4 separate regions of the Homo sapiens genome follow, and all the other regions are linked to region 1. Evidence: promoter capture Hi-C in human tissues and cell types (Jung and others, 2019). All regions are on one chromosome and are shown on one strand. Each heading gives the region's core, a stretch centred on a gene start or on the middle of the fragment in contact. The rest is flanking DNA. Distances are from core to core; before and after follow the strand shown.

The links. The method cuts DNA at HindIII sites, captures the fragments that hold promoters and counts their contacts. A contact is called where the count stands out against the background at its distance.
Region 2: a fragment that was not itself captured here is called in contact with the fragment with the promoter of IL31RA in region 1 in 1 of the 25 tissues and cell types used here (aorta).
Region 3: a fragment that was not itself captured here is called in contact with the fragment with the promoter of IL31RA in region 1 in 1 of the 25 tissues and cell types used here (bladder).
Region 4: a fragment that was not itself captured here is called in contact with the fragment with the promoter of IL31RA in region 1 in 1 of the 25 tissues and cell types used here (mesenchymal stem cells).

The regions. Positions count from the first base shown.
Region 1 is chr5:55,849,946-55,852,784 of GRCh38, reverse strand. It overlaps IL31RA (interleukin 31 receptor A), which reads right to left and starts at 1,428. Exons shown (of 15, transcript NM_139017.7): 1 at 1,152-1,428. The coding sequence starts at 1,214. The HindIII fragment of the contact is 16,782 bases long and covers 1-2,839 here.
Region 2 is chr5:56,041,515-56,044,353 of GRCh38, reverse strand. No RefSeq gene overlaps it. Among named protein-coding and RNA genes, the nearest start is that of IL6ST-DT, 48 kb to the right of the region's middle. The HindIII fragment of the contact is 6,264 bases long and covers 1-2,839 here.
Region 3 is chr5:56,001,059-56,003,897 of GRCh38, reverse strand. It overlaps IL6ST-DT (IL6ST divergent transcript), which reads right to left. Exons shown (of 2, transcript NR_102755.1): 2 at 249-2,149. Among named protein-coding and RNA genes, the nearest start is that of IL6ST-DT, 7.3 kb to the right of the region's middle. RefSeq lists an enhancer at 443-737. The HindIII fragment of the contact is 6,106 bases long and covers 1-2,839 here.
Region 4 is chr5:55,707,159-55,709,997 of GRCh38, reverse strand. The region is part of intron 2 of SLC38A9 (solute carrier family 38 member 9); the gene reads left to right. Among named protein-coding and RNA genes, the nearest start is that of SLC38A9, 3.7 kb to the left of the region's middle. The HindIII fragment of the contact is 5,694 bases long and covers 1-2,839 here.

The sequences.
Region 1 (2,839 bases), core at 179-2,678:
GACTCTCAGTTTCCTAGCAATCAAAGGTTCAAATTAGATTATTTCTAGGATCCCTTCTAGTACCACAATTTTGCAACCGTTTGTAATGGACTGACAAAACCACGAGAAATAAATAGACCGGGGAAGAGATTATGATGCAAAAGGAAAGAAAACTAAGTTTTAAAACAAGCTATGCTTTCCAGCCCCACATTTTAATTTTTAACCCATTCCCCATCTTCCTTAGGCAATGTTCCACTAAGTAGGAGGAATAAGGGTGAGAAAGAGAGCTAGTCTTTTACCTAGAAGATTATAATTATGAGATATTTAAAATTCCAGCCAGGCGTGGTGGCTCACGCCTGTAATCCCAGCACTTTGGGAGGCTGAGGCAGGTGGATCACCTGATGTCAGGAGTTTGAGACCAGCCTGACCAACATGGCAAAACCCCATCTCTACTAAAAATACAAAAAAATTAGTCAGGCATGGTGGCAGGCACCTGTAATCCCAGCTACTCGGGAGGCTGAGGCAGGAGAATCGCTTGAACCCGGGAGGCAGAGGTTGCAGTGAGCCAAGATCGTGCCATTGTACTCCAACCTGGCGACAAGAGTGAAACTCTGTCTCAAAAAATAAATAAAATAAAATAAAATAAAATTCCATTATAATATACTATAGAGAAAAGCTAAATGCTAGCACAAAAATAGCAAGCATTTCTTGAATTTATTCAACCAATACTTAGTAAACACCTATTACATGCATAACAGCTCACTAAAGGTGTTGTGTATTAAATAGAATTCTGGTTAAGACAAGACCAATTGAGCATATACATTTATCTCTACTCTCTCAGGAAACTCCACAAAAATTATGGCAAAGATATAGAACCACAAGACAAAACAAATGGGAAGAGGCAACAGCAAATAAGAGATGTCAACAAATCTTTGGAAAAAGAGAAATGAATCAAGCCATAACTGAACTGGTAAAGATGAGAAAGCAGAAACCTAGAAATGCCTAATAAGGTTGCCAACAATAAGCAAACATAATTATGCCACGGAATCTCATACGGCTCAGGATTTGAGACACTAGGTAGGTAAAATCAACCCTCATTACTCACAGCTTCCTTATTTGTGAATTCACCTACTTGCTAGGAATTATTTGTAACCCCCCAAATCAATACTCACAATGTTTTGCGGACATTCACAGACACATGCCGTGGTGAAAAACTTGAGTTGCCTGATGCACATTCCCAGCTGAGGTGGAACAAGCTGACACTCTGCCTTCCTGTCTCAATTTTCATACTGCACACACATGTCTTTTCATGGTCTATTTAGTGCCATGCTGGTTATTACTATTTTTTTTTGCAATTTTTTGCCTTTTATGAGTGATTTTGCTGTTTCGAATGCCCCCCAAGCAGAGTGCTGGAGTGCTGTCTGGTGTTCCTAAGCAGAAGGAGGCTGTGCCTCATGGAGAAAATATGTGTGTTAAATAAGCTCTATTCAGGCATGAGTCATAGTACTGTTATTAGCCATGAGTTCAATGTTGATGAATCAACAATGTATATTAAATAAGGTGTCTTTAAACAGAAACACACACAAAACAAGGTTATGTATTGATTAGCTGACAAAAATGTTGTGACCAGAGGCTCACAGGCACCTAACTCTATATTTCCCCCACAGAGAATAATTCAGTATTTTCTTTTTTTCTTTTTTTTTTTCTTCTGAGACAGAGTTTCGCTCTTGTTGCTTAGGCTGGAGTGCAATTGCGCCATCTCAGCTCACCGCAACCTCCACCTCCCGGGTTGAAGTGATTCTCCTGCCTCAGGCCAGCCTCCCATGTAGCTGGGATTACAGGCATGCGCCACCAAGCCCAGCTGATTTTGTATTTTTAGTAGAGACGGGGTTTCTCCATGTTGTTCAGGCTGGTCTCAAACTCCTGACCTCAGGTGATCCACCTGCCTCGGCCTCCCAAAGTGCTGGGATTACAGGCATGAGCCACCACGCTCAGCAGTATTTTCTAATTCAGTGTTTGTGGCGATTTTATTGAACATAATTGCCAGGAATAATGAAGGAATAATGAGAATTGACTATACCTCTGAAACAAAAATCATAAGATTGGTTGAAAATCTGAAAAAGAAATAGACTACCTAATCCTAACCCCACAAAGCCAAATTCATTAAATTTCTCCCATCCCAACAGCAGATGGGGGGAAAAAACTTGAAAGAAAGGCAATGCAGAAAGCAGAATATTTTTTAAAAGAAATATTAGTTAAACCTTCATAGAAAATAAGAAAAAATGTTGTACCCACAAAATATGAATAGGATGCTATGATAAAGGCATAATTAGAGAACAAGAACTCTTGGAGATTCAAAATATGAGAGCTGAAGTCTAAAGACTAGAAAATAAAGTTGAGGAAATCTTCCAGAAGATAGAAGAAAAGACAAAGAGATGAAGAATAGCCAACATCTGACTACCAGCAGTACAGAAGCACAGAACAGAGGAATGGAGGGAAAGAAATAATGAGAGAAGTGATACAATAAAATTCCCAAGAATTGAGGAACATTTGTTTCCAGATTGAAAGGGCCCACTGTAAACAGCATAATAAATGAAAATAAATCTACACTGAAGTACAAAACAGTGAAGTTTCAGAATATCAAGAATAAACAGAAAAAAAATGTTTCCAGATAGGAAAAAAATAAGTCACATACAAAGGATCAAGGATGAGAATGGCTTTAGACTTAATAACAAAACCAGAAGTTAGAAAGCAATGGATCAATTCCTTTATAACTCTATTGGAAAATTATTTCTCACCTAGGATGCTCTACCCATCCAAATGATCCATCAGAAAGAAAGGTAAAACAACGTTCTTGAAA
Region 2 (2,839 bases), core at 210-2,709, 190 kb before region 1:
TGTTGTCCCTACCAGACTCTAAGCTCCATGAGGACAAGGGCTCTGTCTGTTTCATCCTCCAGTGTATATCTGGCACCTAGCACAGTGCCTCTCCCACACTCCATGGATATTTGTTGAAATAACATAAAATCTGTAAATGTGGGAGCCTCAGACAGTCACCAGTTGGCCTCAGAGAATTCATCTTCTAATACAGTTTTGACCAACCAAAATTATTTTAACTAATTATTTGAAAATGCATTATTACCTTTCTTTATACAAATAACATATGGCATTTATCGTGTATGAATATGACATGAGTTCTCACACTCAGATTTTGCAATAGCAATATAGATTTTTTGGGTTTTTTTGCTTTGTTTTTTATGGGTAACATCTGTTTCTTCCTAGAAAACACATGAAATCCCTTTCCATGTGTTATAGACTAGATCGAGTTTGAAACTAAAAGTGATTATCTCTCTTCAGTCCAGGCAATGGCAATGTTAAGTAAATAAACAGCCTACTGGAATCTTTCTTATCAGAGTTCCAGGAATGATCACTTTTGTTTTTTAAGAACAAGATATTGAAAGAGCATAGTAGTATCCTTTTTCTGATTGCTTTGTAGAAATCTGGCAGTCCTTCCTCAAAACGAGCCTCTTAGATTCATATCTGCACTTTTCCCTACCATGTCCCACCCTCTCCCAGCCATTAGAATTCAGAAGTTCAATTAGCCGGGCGTGGTGGCGGGCACCTGTAGTCCCAGCTACTCGGGAGGCTGAGGCATGAGAATGCCGTGAACCCGGGAGGCGGGGCTTGCAGTGAGCAGAGATCGCGCCACTGCACTCTAGCCTGGGCAACAGAGCGAGACTCCATCTCAAAAAAAAAAAAAAAATAAAGAATTCAGAAGTTCAAACTAACACCTTAATATTTTCTTAGCAGTTTTTAATTGTTTTGTGCAAATTGACAATGAATATATACTTATCTCCTTTCCTTTGTCAACTTACTAGGGGCAGATTCAGTAAGTACCTGTTGATTTTCTTCTTTCCTTCATTCTGAGAATAAGCCCTTGGTATTATTGTTGCTTCTTAGAATAGTGTAGAGGATAAATAATACATTCTACATCAACCTCTTCATTTTATAAATAAGGCAACTAAAACCTAAAGTAACCAAGCTTACTTGCCCGAAGTCAGATAGCTAGTTAGCAGTAGATCACTTTCCCTCTGATTTTACTTCAATAATATAATATGCTGATATTTTCTTGACAGCTTAACTTACGTACGCTTTGAGTTCATCATGCAATGGCAAAGTAATTTACAATGTACCATTATAAGTAGATACACGTCACTCCAAGAGCAGAATTTCTGGTGTTGGTAAATTACACTAAAACACTTGCCATTTCTGAAATATTCCATATGGATTTGTTGTGCTTATGCTATCACACATAATTTTACCTCAGTCCAGAATCTCCTTTCTTACCTGGTGAATTCTTTTTATTCATCAACACTTAGTTCAAAGGCCACCTTCTCTTTGCAGCCTTCCTTGTCTCCTCAAACTCTCTCTTCCCTGTATCGCCATGGCTCATTATACTCCGTTTATAGTCCACAAAGCTGAATGTCTTGAGGCCAGGACCTTGATGTCTATGTGGCTTCCCAGAACCTAGCATTGTTTTTTGCACTTACTGGACACTTAATTAATATCATTGACTTAGTAAATGAATTAATAAGTAAACTGAATTAAACACCCTCTGACAAAATTAATTACTCACTTCTTGTGAGGCACAGCAGAAAAGGACAAACTAAAGATGCTTTATATATCCTGTCCATGTGGTTCCTATAGCTGCTAAATGACAAAAATGTCTAAAGCATCCTGCACAGCGCTGACATCGACACGTAGTAAATGTTCTTTTACTTTGCTTTCCCCATGTCCAGTCTCCATTATGAACATATAATTATTGTAGTGGAATGAAGATGGAAAGATCAGTGTTTTAAGTTTTGTCAAATATTGTGAGGGGAGAAATAAATTCCTTTGTCCTTTGAATGATTGATTGGTCTGTCCCATGGAGGTGGCTGAGCAGGTTGACATCCAACCCAGTTGGAAGAGTATCTTGGTTCCCAACACAAAGAAGACAATGCAGATCTGTGTGGTTGGAGGGACTGGGATTTACTTCTAATGTAACTTAAAGTACTTGGCACGCAGTTAGCCCTCAATAAATATGAGTTTATTGTTACCCCCTCTCAACGAGTAGTGGCTTTCCAGATCCTCACTGTGAGAAAGATGACAAAGCTACTTCTAAACTCAGAGAAAATAAAAATGCCATGGTCAATTAGCTATGTCTGCCTTGGACACAAGATAGGGAAATGGAACTTTTTTTCCTGGATCTAGAATCCATTGCCTTAAAATAAAGCAGGCTTGAGATAACTTACTGAGTTAGTGGAGCTCACAGAGAGACTGAACAGAAGTAAAGACTTGAATTTTACCATTGGTAGAATGTACAAGTGTCGTTTGCTATCAATAGCTGCACTCTGCAATACAGTAGCCACTAGCCACATGGTGCTTTAAATTTATATGAATTAATCTTTTTAAATTTAATTTAATTTTTTTTTTTGAGATGGAGTCTTGCTCTGTCACCCAGGCTGGAGTGCAGTGGCGCAATCTTGGCTTACTGCAACCTCTGCCTCCCAGGTTCAAGGGATTCTCCTGCCTCAGCCTCCCAAGTAGCTGGGATTACAGGTGCCAGCCACCACGCCCAGATAATTTTTGTATTTTTAGTAGAGACAGGGTTTCAGCACATTGGCCAGGCTGGTCTCGAACTCCTGACCTCATGATCCGCCTGCCTCGGCCTCCTAAAGTGCTGGGATTACAGGCG
Region 3 (2,839 bases), core at 144-2,643, 150 kb before region 1:
ATGACCGGCCAAGGAAACAGAATAAGCTGTCTCTTCTTGGCATGGAAGGAGGGAACAGTATGTTGGATGCTGGCCCAGGAACCATTAGCAAATAGGTAATATGAGAGCCTGGAGTTGGAGGCCATGTTAGGAGACAAGACCAGAGAAGTAGGTAGAGGTCACGTAATGAGGGACTTCTATGACATACAAGAGGGATTTGGGTAATGGGAAGGGATTGACGGAGTTTTAAGGAGAGTGAGATGGTCAGATTTTCAGCACGGTACATGATAAAGATTAGAATTTTATTCTGGTTGCTTATTACTCCTAACAAAACAGTGACTTAAAACAAACATTTTATTATACCATACAAATTTTTGAGTCAGCAGTTTGGAAAGAATTCAGTTAGGCAGTTCTTCTGCTCTATGTGGCATTGACTGGGATCAGTTAGTATTATTCATCTCGTGGCTGGTCTGGTATGGAGGTTCCAAGATGGCTTTACTCACATGCCAAGTTCCTGGGCAGGGTCACTAGGAAGACTGGGATCAGCCGGGCCACTCCCCCTCTCCCTGTAGTCTCAGCTCTCTCCAGATGGTGTAATAAGGTAGATGGACTTTGTACACAGTGACTCAGGACTTCCACAGACCAAGGTGAAAGCTCCTCTTAAAAGCCAGACCCTGAACAAGCCTGCCTAAATTCAAGATGAAGGGAAATAGCCCTCAAATCTCTCCATAGAAGAGTATTGAAGAATTTGTGGCCATTTTAAATCCACTACAAGGTATAAAAATGTAGAACTGAAAGTAGAGAGAGGCAACTGACTTCTTATAATGCCCAGTTTCTGAAGTATTTATGTATGAGTACTTCCAGAATATTCTCTTAACATCTTCCTCATAGCACTGTAACATGGCTATGATTTTTGTATGATTGTTGGTTTATGTATTAGACTTTTGAGCTCCTCAATGAGGACAACACGTGTGTCTTCCTTAGATTAATATCTCAGTGCCTGGAACATAGTTGATGCTCAAAACTTATTGAATAAATAAATTGAATACATTAGAATGGTGGGATCCCGTCTTCACAACACCAGAGCAGCGTTCTGCTTGATATAATTTCCTTCTCCAGATTCGTATCTTCTTATGAACGTAAGAGAAGCTTGATTTAAATGTGTAGAAATAGTATCCATTATAAATATTTATGTGAATAGCTTTTAACTTTTCCCTGTTGTATTAGTTCTCCACTACATAACAAATTATCACATACTTGGCAGCTTAAAACAACACACATTTATTATCTCAGTTTCTGTGGTCAGGAGTCTAGGCACAGTTTAGCTGGGTTCTCTGCTTCAGTTCTCATGAGGCTGCAAACAAGTTGTTAGCTGAGGATGCTGTCTCATCTGAGGCTTGACTGGGGAAGGATCTGCTTTTGTTGGCAAAATTCAGTTCCTTGAGGTTGTAGGACTGAGAGATTTGGTTTCTTTCTCTCTTTTTTTTTTTTTTTTGAGATGGAGTCTCGCTCTGCCACCCAGGCTGGAGTGCAGTGGCGTGATCTCAGCTCACTGCAACCTCTGCCTCCTGGGTTCAAGAAATTCTCTCCCTCAGCCTCCTGGGTAGCTGGGATTACAGGTGCCTGCCACCACACCCAGCTAATTTTTGTATTTTTAGTAGAGATGGGGTTTCACCATCTTGGCCAGGCTGGTCTTGAACTCCTGACCTTGTGATCCACCCACCTTGGCCTCCCAAAGTGCTGGGATTAAAGGCATGAGCCACTGTGCCTGGCCGGGAGATTCAGTTTCAAAGCTAGCTGTTGGCAGAGTCTGCCCTCAGTTCCTTAACATGTGGGTCTTTCCATATCAAAGCTCAAACATGGCAGGCAGCTTGATTTTTCAGAGCCACAAGAGAGAGAGAGACACTAGCAAGATGGGCACTATCTTATATAACTCAATGACATACATGCCTTCACACTCAAGAGGAGGAAATCACACAAGGAATACCAAGAAGCAGGAGGTCATAGCATTTCTCCTAAGAGTCTATCTGTCATATATCCTTACATCCAAATAATGACTCTCATAATTTGATATATCACCAGATAAGCTTTGTTTCCAGTTTCATTTGACCCTGACATTAAATTTCATTTATTTATTTGTTAATTATGGAAGATGGCCATTCCGTAAATCCTGTGAAAAATCAGAGGGGACAATTATCAGAAAATTCCAGCCCTCTCAGGAAGTATATCCATTTCATTTTTACTTTACAGTAGGGACTGCCTTCCTCTCTTAAGGAGACAGATACACATTTGCCTAAACCATTATTTAATACAATTAGTACTAGATCTTTCTTCAGATCCTATGTAGGGGGCTGGGAATTCTTAGCTATACAAGCTCACACAATATATTTTTTAAAATTCATGTTGATACTTTTTCATCTATTTGGTTTTAGCACAAGTATCAGACTGGCAGCCAAGGAACCTATTTTGTAACTGCAGAATATTCTTTCCAGGAAGACTGGTGAAAGGAGAATCAACGAAGGAAAGCCCTTGCTTCTCAAACTCCCCCTGATAATATTCTGAAGCAAGTATAGTCCATTCCAAAGCTACAGTCCCAATACCTGACTTCCTTATCCTATGTATGTGTCTAGGAATAGGATGCACCTAACTGCTGCTCACATGTCTTGCACTGGCCTTTCCTTCTCTGAAGCCAAGCTTCCCTCTCAAAGAGTAACTCAAAATCATTGACCAGCCCATGGCTATTTGACCAGGGTTATCCCTGGAAGTCCACAGTATGGAGATCTCTGAGCTAGATCCCTTCCTCTGTGTTTACCTTTACAGAGCAGTGCTTATTTCTTTCTTTTTTTTTTTTGAGACAGAG
Region 4 (2,839 bases), core at 182-2,681, 140 kb after region 1:
TCCCGGGTTCAAGCGATTCCCCTGCCTTAGCCTCCCAAGTAGCTGGGACTACAGGCACACGCCACCATACCCGGCTAATTTTTTGTGTGTGTTTTGGTAGAGATGGGGTTTCACCATGTTGGCCAGGATGGTCTTGATCTCCTGACCTCTTGATCTGCCTGCCTCGGCCTCCCAAAGTGCTGGGATTACAGGCGTGTGCCACACACGCCCAGCCAGTTAGCCTTAGATTTCTAATCACAATCTTAAATACTATATATTTCAGTTACATACATAAAATAATATGCTTTTAATTGTGATTTTATAATACTCTAAATACTTACAATAAAGGGTAAACTCAGCATAGGAGGATGGAATACCAACCTGAACTACAAATTGAAATAGTATTGTTTAGTATTTTTTTTTTCTTTTTGGGGTTAGGGGCAGAGTTTTGCTCTGATACTCAAGCTTTAGTGCAGTGGCACTGTCATAGCTAACTGTTACCTTGAACTCCTAGGTTCAAGCAATCCTCTTGCTTCAGCCTCCCAAAGCATTGGGATTACAGGCATGAGCCACCACACTGGACCTATATGGTATTTTTTAAAAAGTATATATGGGCTTAAAAGTTAAAAAAAAAAAATCACTTAGAGGTTAAAAATGTCTACCAGGCCTGCATTTTGTAACATACTTAAATTTCTGTCGTTTGCTAGGGTTTTTTTCTTTCTTACCACTGAAATATAACTTGAGAGCATTTAGTGTTCCCATTGTAGAAGGAGAGATTCTTTGGTACCACAGCGTTGCTTTGGTAATTTTTTTGTGAGACCACACTATCCTCCAGCACTGTCAAATTTAACGCCTTTTGAAGCATTTATTGATCAGGTTGGAAGCATGTTCCAACTGTCACATCAGAATAGGAGCATTATAGATCCTATTGGCTAACCAGTAAATGATTCATCAGGAAGAGATTTAGATAAGTTTGTTATTGGAGTTTATAGCTGTTACAGACTAATACAGAAGAAAATATATATACATAGCATAACTGCTTCCACCAGGGTGACTTTTTTGTGGTGTGGTTCCATTTGCTTTTATGTTGGCATACTACAGAGGTGAGTAAACTATGACCAAATTTGGCCTGCTGACAGATATATTTTTTTCATAAAGTTCTATTGGAACACAGCCATGCACACTCAATTGCCTTTCATGCTAACAGGTAGAATTGAGTAGCTGCAGAAACTATATGGCTCAAAAAGCCTGAAATATTTATTATCTGACCCTTTACAGAAAAAAATATGTCAACCTCTAGCCTAGGACACTGAGTATAAATGTAGTATCTGAAACTCTATAACATACACAAAAGTATTCAGTAATATTCATTTTTAGTCTCTGAGAAAGAACATATATAATAGTTGTATGTGGGTCCATAGTCACATTTATTTGGGCACAAGCTAGTGTATTCTATTGCAGATTGATGCTAGCATCTTGGCATAGATTCTATAGATTTATTTTTGCAAAGAATTGTGAAAAGACATTTCTGAGCCTAGTATGGAAAGGGCTGATATTCTTTGAGATACGCCAATAATCACAGTCAATACCTTTTTAAAATAATGTCATACCAGTTTACTTTGATTGCTCTCTATGTCCTTTTTACGGAGAGAAGTGCTTCAGTACAGGCACTAACATTTTTTGTTCTTTTAGAGACAGTCTCACTCTGTCACCTGGGCTGGAATGCAGTGGTGCCATTGTAGCTCGCTGCAATCTCGAACTCCTGGGCTCAAGCAGTTCTCTCACCTCAGCCTCCCGAGTAGCTGAGATTACAGGCATGAGCCACCATGCCTGGCTCAGTCACCAACATTTTAAATAAAAGTCGAAAGTACCAAGCAAGTCAACTAAGCTGTTCATTCCCTACTGGGACCTATCTCAGTCTCTTGGTGCTGCTCTAATGAAATACTTGAGGCTAGGTAATTTATAAACAATAGAAATTAATTTCTAGCAGTTGTGGAGGCTGGGAAGTCCAAGATCAAGCCACCTGCAGATTTGATGTTTGGTGAGGACCCGGTCTCTGCTTCCAAGATGGTGCCTTGGTGCTGTGTCCTCACATGGGGGAAGGGATGGAAAGACAAAAGGGATCTAGCTAGTTCCCTTCAAACTTTTCATAAGGTTACTAACTCCATTCATAAGGGTTCTGCCTTCCTGACATAATTACCTCCAAAAGGGTCTACCTGTTAATACTATAACATTGGCAATTAAGTTTCAACATATGAATTTTGGACGGGACACAAACATTCAAATCATAGCTGGACTCCTTATTAAAACCAATCTTAAACAATTAGAGACTCATTTAATGACTTAGATTTGACTTAGTGGTCTTGCATCTGGGACTTTGTTTTAAAACTCAGAGATTGAGTGAGATGTTAAAAGTGATTATGTCTGGGTTTTGTTTTGAGACAGAGTCTTGCTCTGCAACCTCTGCCTCCTGGGTTCAAGCAATTCTCCTGCCTCAGCCTCCCGGGTAGCTGGGACTACACGTGTGTGCCACCACTGCTGGCTAATTTTTGTACTTTTAGTAGAGACAGGGTTTCACTATGTTGGCCAGGCTGGAATATGTCTGTTTATGTCATCTTGTATATTTAGCCCCTACCAAATTATATCAATGTAATGTCTGACAAATTAATACTATAGAAGTATTTAGCATTTTTGTTAATCATTGATAAACTATTCTGCATTATCACCTATGTAATATTTGCTGTGGAACTCTAATTCACCTCTCAACCTAAGTCATCAAACTTCGGGATATTTTATACTTCTCATCAAGACATTCAAAAAAGCTTTAAGACTAGGCATGGTGGCTCATGCCTATAATCCC